Regions from separate parts of the Homo sapiens genome. Here region 1 is linked to region 2. Evidence: promoter capture Hi-C in human tissues and cell types (Jung and others, 2019). All regions are on one chromosome and are shown on one strand. Each heading gives the region's core, a stretch centred on a gene start or on the middle of the fragment in contact. The rest is flanking DNA. Distances are from core to core; before and after follow the strand shown.

What was found. The method cuts DNA at HindIII sites, captures the fragments that hold promoters and counts their contacts. A contact is called where the count stands out against the background at its distance.
Region 1: a contact is called between a fragment that was not itself captured here and the fragment with the promoter of GPR156 in region 2, in 1 of the 25 tissues and cell types used here (aorta).

The regions. Positions count from the first base shown.
Region 1 is chr3:120,096,012-120,101,923 of GRCh38, forward strand. All of the region lies in intron 1 of GSK3B-DT (GSK3B divergent transcript), which reads left to right. Among named protein-coding and RNA genes, the nearest start is that of GSK3B-DT, 3.9 kb to the left of the region's middle. The HindIII fragment of the contact is 4,861 bases long and covers 1-4,193 here.
Region 2 is chr3:120,282,932-120,289,398 of GRCh38, forward strand. It overlaps GPR156 (G protein-coupled receptor 156), which reads right to left and starts at 2,291. Exons shown (of 10, transcript NM_153002.3): 1 at 2,098-2,291. LOC124909418 (a long non-coding RNA gene) reads left to right here and starts at 2,225. Exons shown (of 2, transcript XR_007096029.1): 1 at 2,225-4,206; 2 at 5,331-6,467. The HindIII fragment of the contact is 13,353 bases long and covers 1-4,871 here.

The DNA.
Region 1 (5,912 bases), core at 513-3,012, 190 kb before region 2:
AGACAGTTGCCATCCTGATTGTAATCCAGTGGTGCCTGTAATTTCTACCTGCAGAGTCATCTCTTTCTGTTAAGATGCTGTCTCCAGAAAGCACATGTTAAAGGACCTATATTTGATCAGATTACCTGGCTCTTGCTTTGAAACACTGATGAAGGACTTGGGACAGAACAAAGTAAGCTTTGATGGAAGACAGGAAAGGTCTAGATAGTGTTTGCAGATTCAAATGGCTACAGAGGCCAGACAAGTAAAGCAAATGAGTGAGACTGGCCTTGTGTAAGACAATGGGGAATGATAGGGAAAATGGCAAATTGGAATATCCATGCCATAACTAAAAGGAACAGCTGCTCAACTCTAGCAGATTGTTGCCCTCAGGAATGTGGGTCCAGTGTTCTCAGATGTTCAATTTTTTTCCTCCCAAAAGAAACCCCAAAATTGGATTTTTGTGTGAAATCTCTGCATTTTTAAATGTTGGTAACCAAATTTTCAAACCCTGCAGGCCAACCTAAAAACATCCCTTGGCCAATGAGGCATTGGAAAAAGTGTTAATAATTGTTAGGGGCCCGATAGCAGTAGGAGGGTGAAAACAAAATGGTTTGGGACCTTAAATAATTGAAATGTATCTTTATTTATTTATTTATTTTTGAGACGGAGTTTCACTCTTGTTGCCCAGGCTGGAGTGCAGTGGCGCGATCTCGGCTCACCGCAACCTCCGCCTCCCCGATTCAAGTGATTCTCCTGCCTCAGCCTCCCAAGTAGTTGGGATCACAGGCATGTGCCACCATGCCAGCTACTTTTGTATTTTTAGTAGAGACGGGGTTTCTTCATGTTGGTCAGGCTGGTCTCGAACTCCCGACCTCAGGTGATCTGCCTGCCTCAGCCTCACAGAGTGTCAGGATTACAGGCGTAAGCCACCACACCGGGCCGGTTGAAATTTATCTTTAAAATAGTGCACCTTTAATCCTTTTTTTATTTCTGTGTGTATCTTATAATGTGCATATCATGTTAGCTCAAGATCAAGAGTTTATGGACAAGCCAGGAGTGGTGGCTTATGACTGTAATCCCAGCAATTTGGGAGGCCGAGGCAGGTGGATCGCCTGAGGTTAGGAGTTCAAGACTAGCCTGGTCATCATGGTGAAACCCCGTCTCTACTAAAACTTTAAAACTTAGCTGGGCGTGGTGGCGGGCGTCTATAATACCAGTTACTTGGGAGGCTGAGGCAGGATAATTGCTTGAACCCAGGAGGTGGAGGTTGCAGTGAGCTGAGATCGCACCATTGCACTCCAGCCAAGGCAACAAGAGCAAAACTCCGTCTCAAAAAAAAAAAAAAAAAAAAAGTTTATGAACCACTAGTTTAGACAAAGAATAGTTGTACAGTTGTACAGATGGATAAGGAAGGAAAGAACATTCCAGGCAAAGAGAAAAGGTTATGCAATGGCTGAAATGTTTAACAAGGTATTTGGAGACCTTGAGATAGTTTGAAATTATGTAATGTCTAAGATGTGGGCCAAGAGAAAATAAAGGAAAATATCACAGGATAATAGAGGAGTAAAGTAAACTATGCTGTATTAACTCCATATTAGGCAGCCAGTAAAAATAAATACAACCACCAAAAGTAACTCAGAAATATGTTTAGGAAACAATACTAATTGAAAAATATAGAACTTCAGGTTGTATATCTACCATATTTCCAATCTGTAAAATATAAGTACATTTGGATCAAGATTGGAAAGGAAGACAAATTAGAATAACTCGTCAATAACATATTTAAATATAAATGAAAATATTTAAATGTCTTTGCTTAGTATTTTTATAATAAATTTCTATTTTTTTACTTTTATTTATCTTTTAATCTCACTGTTATCCAGGATGGAGTGCAGTAGCACAGTCATAGCTCACTATGGCCTTGAACTTCTGGGCTCAAGCAGTCCTCCCACCTCAGCCTCCTAAGTAGCTGGGATTACAGGTGTAAGCCACTGTACCCCACCTCTGTGTTTGATTTTAAGGGGAATTGGCCCAAAAAATAACATTTATATTATTTCTTCACTATGATTCACATGTCCCTCAGAAGCCTCTAATTACAATGGAATTCTTAAAAAAAATTCACATTTCTCAGCAAAGCTTTCCAACGAAAATTTTTATGATAATCCTTTGTCATATAAGTTAAAATAGTAAAACTAGACAATAGTGAGTAAGTATTATATTTGAGACACCTGCTAGGCATCTGATATAAGGTGGATGAGAGGATCAGTGTCCTTTGGGAGTTTACCCTCTAGGGAAGCAACTACATGAAAAGTTAAATAAATTATAAAAATCACATTTTGAATTGATAAAAGTTATGAGACAGAACATAATTTGGTTTTTATTTATTTTTTTGAGACAGGGTCTCACTTTGTCCTCCAGGCTGGAGTGCTGCGGCCTCAACCTCCCAGGTTCAAGGGATCCTGCTGCCTCAGCCCCCCAAGTAGCTAGGACTACAAGGGTGCACCACCACACCCAGCTAATTTTTGTATTTTTTGTATAAATGGGGTTTCGCCATGTTGCCCAGACTGGTCTCAAACTCCTGGGCTCAAAATCTGCGTGCCATGGCTTCTCAAAACGCTAGGATTACTGGCGTGAGTCACCATGCCTGGCCTATAATTTGTTAATATGGTTGTTACTACAAAGTTTAAAATAAATTGCCCATGCATTCCTATTTATAATAGGTGAGTGGAGGACACTTCAATCTAAAGTGATCTTAAAGGAGGAGTAGTAGGATTTGAAGATGAAGAAAGAAGAGGGGAGGTAAATTACTTTCCATCACTTCAATTTCAACCCATCAGATAAAACCTCTCTTTAGTAAACCTGCATGTGGGTGGAGCTGTAACAGCAATTAAGGACAGTGTGACTCTGTTCTTCTGACTTTGGGAAAACCAGTTTGGCTGGAACAAAAAGCTGATAGAGAAGACTAATGGAAGATAAGGTTGAAAAGGTAGGTTTGAGGGAGCTTTGTTACAGGAAAAAAAAAAAAAAAAAACTGGGCTTTGTCCTGTAGACAGTGGAGAGGTACTTTAGCAGATGTAAGACATTACCATTATAGGAAAGCCTCTGAAGTAACATACACTGTGGTTTTTCCTGTTGCTGAAAATATGCCCAGAGTAACAAGATGTGGCATAGTTGGTTATGTGTCTTATAACCAGTGAGGTGTGCCCAAATGGGAAATTAATGAATGACTACCCAAAAAGAAGAGGGAGAGTGTTTGAAACACTGTCACTGTGAAATAGACTGGTTGTATGAAAAGTTGCATATCAAGCCTTTGGCAAATTATATAAATACTCTGATTTTGACATCTTAAAGGAGTATACTATAGAAAATAAAAGAAAAACACTTGAATCTGTTACAGGAAACGGGTCATGATCCAGACCCCAGGAGAGGGTTCTTGGATCTCACACAAGAAAGAATTCAGGGTGACCCCACAGTGCAAAAGTCAAAGCAAGTATTAAGAAAATGAAGGAATAACAGAATGGCTACTACATAGAGCAGCCCTGAGGGCTGCTGGTTGCCCTTTTTTTTTTTTCCTTTGAGATGGAGTTTTCGTTCTTGTTGCCCAGGCTGGAGTGCAATGGCGTGATCTCGGCTCACCACAACCTCCACCTCCCAGGTTCAAGCAATTCTGCCTCAGCCTCCCGAGTAGCTGAGATTACAGGCATGCGCCACCACGCCCGGCTAATTTTGTGTTTTTAGTAGAGTGAGGGTTTCTCCATGTTGGTCAGGTTGGTCTTGAACTTCCGACCTCAGTTGATCTGCCCGCCTTGGCCTCCCAAAGTACTGGGATTACAGGCATAAGCCACCGCACCTGGCCTGGTTGCCCATTCTTTATGGTCGTTTCTTGATGATATGCTAACCAAGGAGTGGATTAATCATGCCTCCCCTTTTTGGACCACATAGGGTCTAAACTGTCATGGCACATTTGTAAACTGTCATGGCACTGGTGGGAGTGTAGCAGTGAGGACGACCAGAGGTCACTCTCGTCGCCATTTTGGTTTTGGTGGGTTTTGGCCAGCTCCTTTACTGCAACCTGTTTTATCAGCAAGGTCTTTAAGACCTGTATTTTGTGCTGACCTCCTATCTCATCCTGTGACTTAGAATGCCTTAACTGACCATCTGGGAATGCAGCCCAATAGATTTCACCCTCATTTTGCCCGGCTCCTGTTTAAGATGGAGTTGCTCTGGTTCACATGCCTCTAACAAATCCTTTTAGTTTTTCATGCTTGTCACATGTTTACTTCTAAGGGTATAATCATGTGGTTTACTATATTATTACCGATTAGATTATTTTGAACTACTTCAATTTTATTTATTTTACCTCATTTCCATTCACATTTTTTGAAAAGAGCTTTTTTATACAAGAGTGTAAATATTTTCACATTGAATAAATGAATTGAAAACAGTATGTGTTGATTGAATACTTGAAGTATACTTCTTTACAGCAAATTCTAGGAATTCAGCTTTGTTTTATGTGCATTAAAATGTAATAAATATAGGCCTGAGAAATTCTCAGAACAAATATTTTAGGCCCTCAGTAGCTGTAAATCGGGAACGGTCAGATTTCCTTCACATGGAAATGGGACTCACATCTCTCAGAATGGAACAGAAGTCTTTTGGTCTTTAATCTATGTCATGTTGATGGGAAATGTGAAAGCTACAAGAAAATTGGTATTTGGTTTCTTGGATATTGAATATCCTTGGCCAGGGGTGCAGGGAAGTGAAAAAAAAGTAAGACCTCCTATGGATCATCCAAAAAGGAATTTCAGAATGCAGAGAGGACTGGTCTCCCTTAATCAGGCCAAAACTTTATTTGAATTGTATCAGGATGCTTCATTCCTGTGCCCTGTAGGATGGAATCTTGAAAGAAAATGGGAAGGAATGTACAAAGCCTCAAGGAATGTGTTTCTCTGTAACATCTAGATCAGACAGTAGTATGAAGTGCCAGATATGAAACCAGAAAGGATCCTTATGAGAGTTTATAGCTCAGTTTTAAGATGTTTTACTATCTCTGCTGTCTTATTTTTTTATTTTTATTTTTAGAGATGGGGTCTCGCTCTGCTGCCCAGGCTGGAGTGCAGTGGTGTGATCATAGCTCACTGCAACCTCAAACTCCTGGGCTCAGGTCAACCCTCCTGCCTCAGCCATGCCCTGCCACTGCCCCCTTCCCCCGCAGTAGCTGGGGCTACAAGTGCATGCCACCACACCCAGCTATTTTAATTACTTTGTAGAGACAGGGTCTTGCCATGTTGTCCAGGCTGGTGCTGTTGTTCTTTATTTTTACAATGTATATTGTGTATGCACTAGTAGTGTTCAGTACTTGAAGATAAAAGTAGTAATTTAGGAAAAATAACCATTATTCCCCTAACTAAATCTTGCTACTCTTAGGACCAGTTAGGAGTCTTAGGAAAATATCAACTCTGATTGTTTTTTCTTTTCTGTTTGTTTGTTTTTATTGTTGTTGTTATTGTTTAGATAATTTGTTGCTCTGTCACCCAGGCTGGAGTGCAGATGTGTGATCATGGCTCACTGCAGCCTACCTCCAGGGATAAAGCAATCCTCCCGCCTTAGCCTCCCAAGTAGCTGGGACTTACAGGCACACAACTGACCTAGCTAATTTTTTTATTTTTGTAAAGGCAGAGGTCTTCCTACGTTGTCCAGACTGGTCTTGAACTCCTGGCCTCAAGCAATCCTCCCACCTTGGCCCCCAGAGTGCTGGGATTACAGGTGTGAGCCACTATACCCAGTCTGGTTTTTTTTCTTTTTTTTTTTTTTTTTTTTTTTTTTGAGGACTCAACATGTCCGAGACAGTTGAGTACACTTCTACTTTCTCTAACCACTTCTTGACAATTTGAATACAGTTTTCATTTTTAGTCTTCTTATCAAAAGTG
Region 2 (6,467 bases), core at 1,041-3,540:
AAAGTCAGAAGAATAAGATCCATATTTTTTTCTTAAAATGTTAATATCCTTCACACATCTATATTTGAAACACCTTCTGATTCAAGCTCTGTCCAGGACCAGATCACATATGTCTGGATTCTAAACACTGATTTTTATTAACAAGTTTGTTTTAAGATAATAAGTTTATAAAATGAGAGGTAGAAAACATCTCTGTATGTCTAAAATTTTTCATAATAAAGTACTGGAGAAAAAAAGGTGAGATAGTGATTTGCATCCTTTATCAGGCAAAATTCATCAGCAACTAAACATGAATGTTCTGATTCTCAAGACCTTTGCAAAATAAAGGCTCTGATTTTTTTTTTTCAACTAAATGTAGAACATTTCTTTCAACCCCCAAATCCACCTTTGCAGCCCAAGTCAGTCCACGTTGCACTGTTTCTGCAGCATGTCAGAGCCTCTGGCTTCTTTCCTCTCTCCCCCTTCCCCCAATTAATCTCTGAAACCTACATAAGAATGGAATAAAATGCAAATTCAAGGAGAAGGATGCAGTTTTCAGAGAAGGCCTCATCCTCCTCCTACCCTATAATGGAAATTCCCTTATGGTTAAACAACAAAAATGGAAATATTAAAACCCTCAGCTGAAAACAAACACTTAAGCACCTATTCTCCTTTCCAGAGAATCTGTTTCCCTCAATCATTATTTTTCCACTCTTTTGAGAGCCTTCTAGGCTGAAAGTTGTTTCATCTCACCCATCTTGGGTCTCTCCTAGGTCTCATTTCTGCCTTCACCAGGCTTGAAGTTCTATATCCCTAGGCTATCAGAACTTTGACTCTGACCAGGCTCAATTCTAGACTTTACTGGGGAATGGGGAGAAGCTAAAAGCTGGGGGTGGAAGAGAAGGGGAAACAGAGGGAACATTCCAGAGACAGTAGTGTCCCTGAAGGGGAATTAGGCTGGCAAAATGGGGACCAGAAAGCCACCTCTATTCCTCACAAGGGACACCTAACTCAAGCACAGCCTGCTAAAGCACTTTATTCTCCAGACTCAAATTGCCTTAACCTGTAAGCAAACGCTTCCCCAGCCATTTATCCGCAAGCGCATTTGCCCCACCTGCAGCAATGAAAGAAGCACTGTTTTTGCAAGCCGGGCTGCTACCCAGACTGCGAGGAGACATTCTGTGCAGAATTCAGCCACTGGTGGAGAAAAAGAAGTTTTTCTTTGCAGGCCTTGCTGCCTAATACAACTATATCAACAATTTCTCCCGCTGTGTAAGCCCCATCTGAAAATCTTTCCCTTTTATCTAGGATGCAAAAATGTAATGTTATCCTCCATATTCTGGTTTAAAGAACTACACCAGGAAAGACATTTTATGATAGGCTAGGGCATCATTTACCTCTAATTCAAGCATGCATGTACCTAGAAAACTAACAAAGGGGTAAGTTATGCCATGCCATGACTTCTCTTCCCAGATTTCTATCCTGAAATCTTAACAAAATTCGATTTTAAAAACCTCAAGGTTTGTATTCTTCACGAGTACATGGATACCTTGAGTTCTACCTAGAGGCCTCTAGTTTCTGACAGAGCTAACTTGGAAAGGGCTGCTTGCCAGGGTACAAGGATGTTGCAGCTTCCAGGTGACTCCCTCATGCCCAGAAGCAAGGCAGTTCAACAGACGCAGTGCAATACAATTGTCCCTTTTCAGGACTTTGCAATCTCCATGGGGGAGCCCATCGTGCCCGCCACTCTACACCCTGGGGGTGAACATGCCCTGCAAAGCAGATTCGGCGTGAGGAGACTCTGGAAAGTCTACAGGCGGTGGGAAACTGTTTCGGGATCTCTCATTTTCAGCACAGCCGGTCGCTTATTCAGCAGAAAACCCACGGCCCCATCTTCACACCAAATTACAGTACTCTCCCGTCTCTTCCACTGAAATTGCCACTCGCATCCCTGATGCGTGACCCCTGCTCACCTCAAGTTCCTATGAGAGTTTCTTTACCGGTTCCAAACAAACTGCCCAGATTCTGGAAAGGGAGAGAAAGCCCCTCCCCCTTTCCACTTTCACTTAATAATTAAGTGTTTGAAGTTTTGTGGATCCTTAAGGTCGCTGTGCTCACCTCATCAGCGTCGGACCGCCGAGAAGCGCCAAGCCCGCTGCTATGTGCAGGACGCCCACGGTCCCCCGGCGTCTCGCGCGTTCGCGGGGCTGGAAGGGGCGGGAAGGGGCGGGCCGGGGCAGAGACAGGGGCCCGCGCCCATCGCCGCGCCGGGAGCCTGGCGTGGAGGCGGCGGGACGGCGGCGCAGGCCTCTGAGGTGTGCGCGGGGCGCCGGGCGCCTCTGGCCGGGGCACTGGCTGAGCCACGCCTGCCCGCCCCTCCCTGGCGCCGCCCGCGTGGCGCGCCTCGACCCTGCTCTCCCGCGAGGGCCGGGAGGGCTCCGGGACCTTGCAGACTCCACGCGCCTCACGGCTCCTCCAGCTCCTCGGATCTTTCTCCTTGCGTCGCCGCCGAGTCCCCTGGGGCGGCCCCGCCTCCGGCCGTCTCCTCAGAGACCTTCCCTGGGGGGCGCCTTCCCCTCAGCGCCCCTTCCCGGGCCTCGAGCCAGCGGCTGCCGCAGGAGCTGGCCCCGGGGCGAGGAGCTTCAGATTCAGGTCCCTAGCCGGCCTCGGTAAGGAGACTGGAAGGATTCTCCGCGAATGCTCATTTTTATTTCTGGAGTGGCGTCGGAGTTACCAATTAGTTTTCTTATTTTATACTCTCTGGAGTTGCCAAATTCTTTACGTTGAGCTTTTGCTTATTTTATAATCAGAAAGACAAGTACGTTTCTTTTTCCAAGAATGCTTACAGGAGGCCACAAACAAGATGTTCGCACCCAGCCCACTGTCTTCCGCTTAAAAATATGTGTGAGATGTTGTGTTTAAGACACCCTCAAGGAGAAACATAGAGGGGAGACCTGGAAATGGTCTTGGGAATCCACTTAGACTTTCCATATTATATTTGTTTCATTTATTTTAAAATCTCAGACCTATTTATGTGCATTAGGACATTCCACATTTTTACAACTGCGCAGAGGAAATCTTTGGTTGTAGAGGACGGGAAGAGAGAGGCCAGGTCCGCAGACCCCACTGTGACAAGACAGTGGCTACATTCTTAACTGTTTTACACATTGTGATACCCAAAGACTTCTTTTCACAGGATTCTACTGAGGGGGAAAACAAGAGGAAGAAAGAAAGATAGACAAGGTTTTCCTCAAGGCAGTAAGCAAAAAGCTGGTTTCTCAGAAGAAAGAATTATGTCTGAGATTTTACCCAGGACTCTCCAGATCTCTCATTCTACACAGAAGGACCCTTTCATTTGGAACGTGCAGAAACTGAGGAGGACCATCTCTCTCCTCCATGGGGGCTGCCTGAGTTAAAAAGGCCTGGGTCCATCTTTTTTCCGTAGGAGAGCTGACTTCAGAGTCTAGAGCCAAATCTTCACTTCTGTGGCTCTAGATTGAGGATTTGCCCTTCTGATCTCTGTGGGGCTTTTTTTTTTTAACCTGGGAATTCCCCTGGGCTCTTCGGCTGTTATTCTCATCAACCCCTCTCTATATTCTGCAAGACATTGAAATCTTTCTCCCAGCTTGGCCCCCACCTCCAATCCCAGTATTCTCTTTTCTGAGATTGGAGTATTTCCAACCCCTCAGTTGCCAGGCACTGAAGGTTTTCATCTTCCAGGCCTGCCATGTTTACCTCTGAGATGTTTCTGGCAACTGTCCACTTCTCTGCATTCTCACACTGCTGCTCTTGATAAGCTTCGATTATCTGGGGCTGAATTGTTTCAATAATTTCCTAACTGATTTTCTTGCCTCCTATCTGTCCCCACCACCAACATAGACTTAAGAATGTCACTCTCTTGACAAAACAAGCCAACATCCTCTATCCTCTGTCCCACTCCCAAACCTGCAGTAACTTTCCTGTGCAATTGTAATACAGTGTAAACTTTCATAAGGATGGGGAGTGGCCAAGATGGCTGACCAGAAGCAGGTAATGTACATGGCTCTCACGGAGAGGAACAGAAGGGACGAGTAGATACAACACCTTCAACTGAAACATCCGGGTACTCGCATTGGGATTAATCAAGGAAACAACCTGACCCACAGAGAACAAGGAAAAGCAAGACAGGACAACAGCCCACCTGGGAGCAACAGGGAACCAGGGGATCTTCCCCTGCCCAGGGAAGTGGTAAGTGAATGAGCGACCCCGGAAACCATGCTTCTCCCACAGATCTTTGCAACCCTCCTGTCAGGAGATCTCCTTGTGAATCCACTCCACTAGCAGCAGGGCCTTCAGTCTTCAGTCTGGCAGACAGGGCTACATGGAGTCTCAGCAAAGCAGCCACTCAGGCATGCGTGGAGACCCTGGAGGCTTAGATACTTGGGCGTTCTGGCAAAAGTAGCTGCATCTCCCACAAAGAGGGAGTTTAGACTCCCATTCATACCCCTAAGAAAGAGGCTGAATCCAGAGGGCTGAGCAGCAACAGCCCGCAGGGCCCACTTCCACAACACCTCACACAAGACAGGACCCACTGGCTTGGAATTCCACCCAGCTACCAGTAGCAACATAGCACCTGCCTAAGTAGGAGCTCCCAGGGGAGGGGTAGGCCAACATCTTTGCTGTTCAGGAGCTTTAGCTGTTCCAGCCTTCAGGGTTTGGAGAGTCTGAGACGACCTGGGGCGGTAAGGATGCCCCAGCACAGCACAGCTGCTCTACCAAAATGTGGCCAGACTGCTGCTTTAAGTGGGTGCCCAATCCCATTCCTACTCACTGGGTGTGACCTCCCAACCAGGGCCTCCAGCCACCCTGCCTGAGCTCTTCAGCTGTGACAGAGATCTGAATTCCCCCTGGGATGGCACTCTTAGAGGGAGGGATGGGCTGCCATCTTTGCTGTTTGGCTGACTTAGCTCTTCCAGCCTTTGGGTTGTAGAGTGTCTGAGGTGACCAGGAGCTGAAGTGGACCCCCAGCACAGCACAGCTGCTATACAGAAATGTGGCCAGACTGCTTTTTTAAGTGTGCCCCATCCTGTTCCTCTTCATTAGGTGGGACCTCCCAACCAGGGTCTTCAGCCACTTCCTACAGGTGCCTTTGGGCCAGCAACAGGTCCATACCTCCCTGGGACAAAGCTCCCAGGGGGAGGGACAGGCTGCCATATTTGCTGTATCATAACCTTCACTGGTGACACCTCCAAGTTCTGGAAAATCTGAGGTGACTAGGGACTGGAGCAGGCCCTAAGCATACCAGAGCAGCCCTGTAGAAAAGTGGCCAGACTGTTTCATGGGTGCCTATTCCCATATCTCCTCACTGGCAGGTCCTCCAGGCCTCGGCCTCCAGCCACTCCCCACCAGAGCTATCCAGCCAATACCAACTCAGCGACTTCCAGGACAGTGCCTCCAGGGGCAATTGAAAGGGTCTTAGCCACTGCCTCTGCTGTGGAACTCCCCTTGCCACCCTTGGACTAAAGAAGGAGCAAAGACCCTAAGTGCCTTTTCCATACCAACAAGCTGCAGTAGACCCAAGGAAAGGAGACCAGTCCATCTCCCATGTGTTCCACACTGCTCACTGGACAGGCAACCCCTGGCTTGGGTCCAAAGCACGAACCCTCCTTCTTGGGCTGATTGCACTGAGCAATTGGTAACCTGCATTTTTCTGGGGGTAGAGCCCCCAGGAGTCAAGCAAATGACTCTCGGCCACAGCACCTACTAAGATGAGCCTCTGCTACTTCTAAGCTGGGGAAGGAACATAAACACAGATCACTCCAGAGCTGCAGTGGGCAGTCCAGGGGTGCTAAGTCGTGAACTACAGCCAGCACTCAAGGGGGAGAGGAACCCACACTTTCGGAGCACTGAGAGGGAACACAGCTGCAACTGTGAAGAAACATACAGGAGCAGGAGTCTACCAATTGACCAATAAGCCTAAGTGTCACCTGCAGGATCACACCCCAAAGCTTCAACACGAAAAATATTTCACTAACATACACACCTCTGAAACCAGAGACAAGAAGTCAGCTTCAAATAAAGACCCTATAGAAAGCCTCAGCACAGTGAAAACATCCAAAAAAGAAGTCTGTTGACTGTAGTCAATCTACGTTGCAGTCAAATGAACACCCACACACAGAGATGAGAAAGAACCAATGCAAGAACTCTGGTTACTCAAATGGCCAGAGTATCATACGTCCTCCAAACGATCACACCAGTTCTCCAGCAAGAGTTCTTAACCAGGCTGAACTGGCTGGAATAACAGAAATAGAATGCAAAATATGGATAGGAACAAAGAGATCATCAAGATTCAGGAAGATGGCAAAACCCAATCCAAGGAAAATAAGAATTACAATAAAGTAATACAGGTGCTGAAGGATGAAATAGCCAGTATGAAAAAGAACCTAATTGGTCTGACAGAGCTGAATAACACAATACAAGAATTTCACAATGTGGGCCAGGTGCAGTGG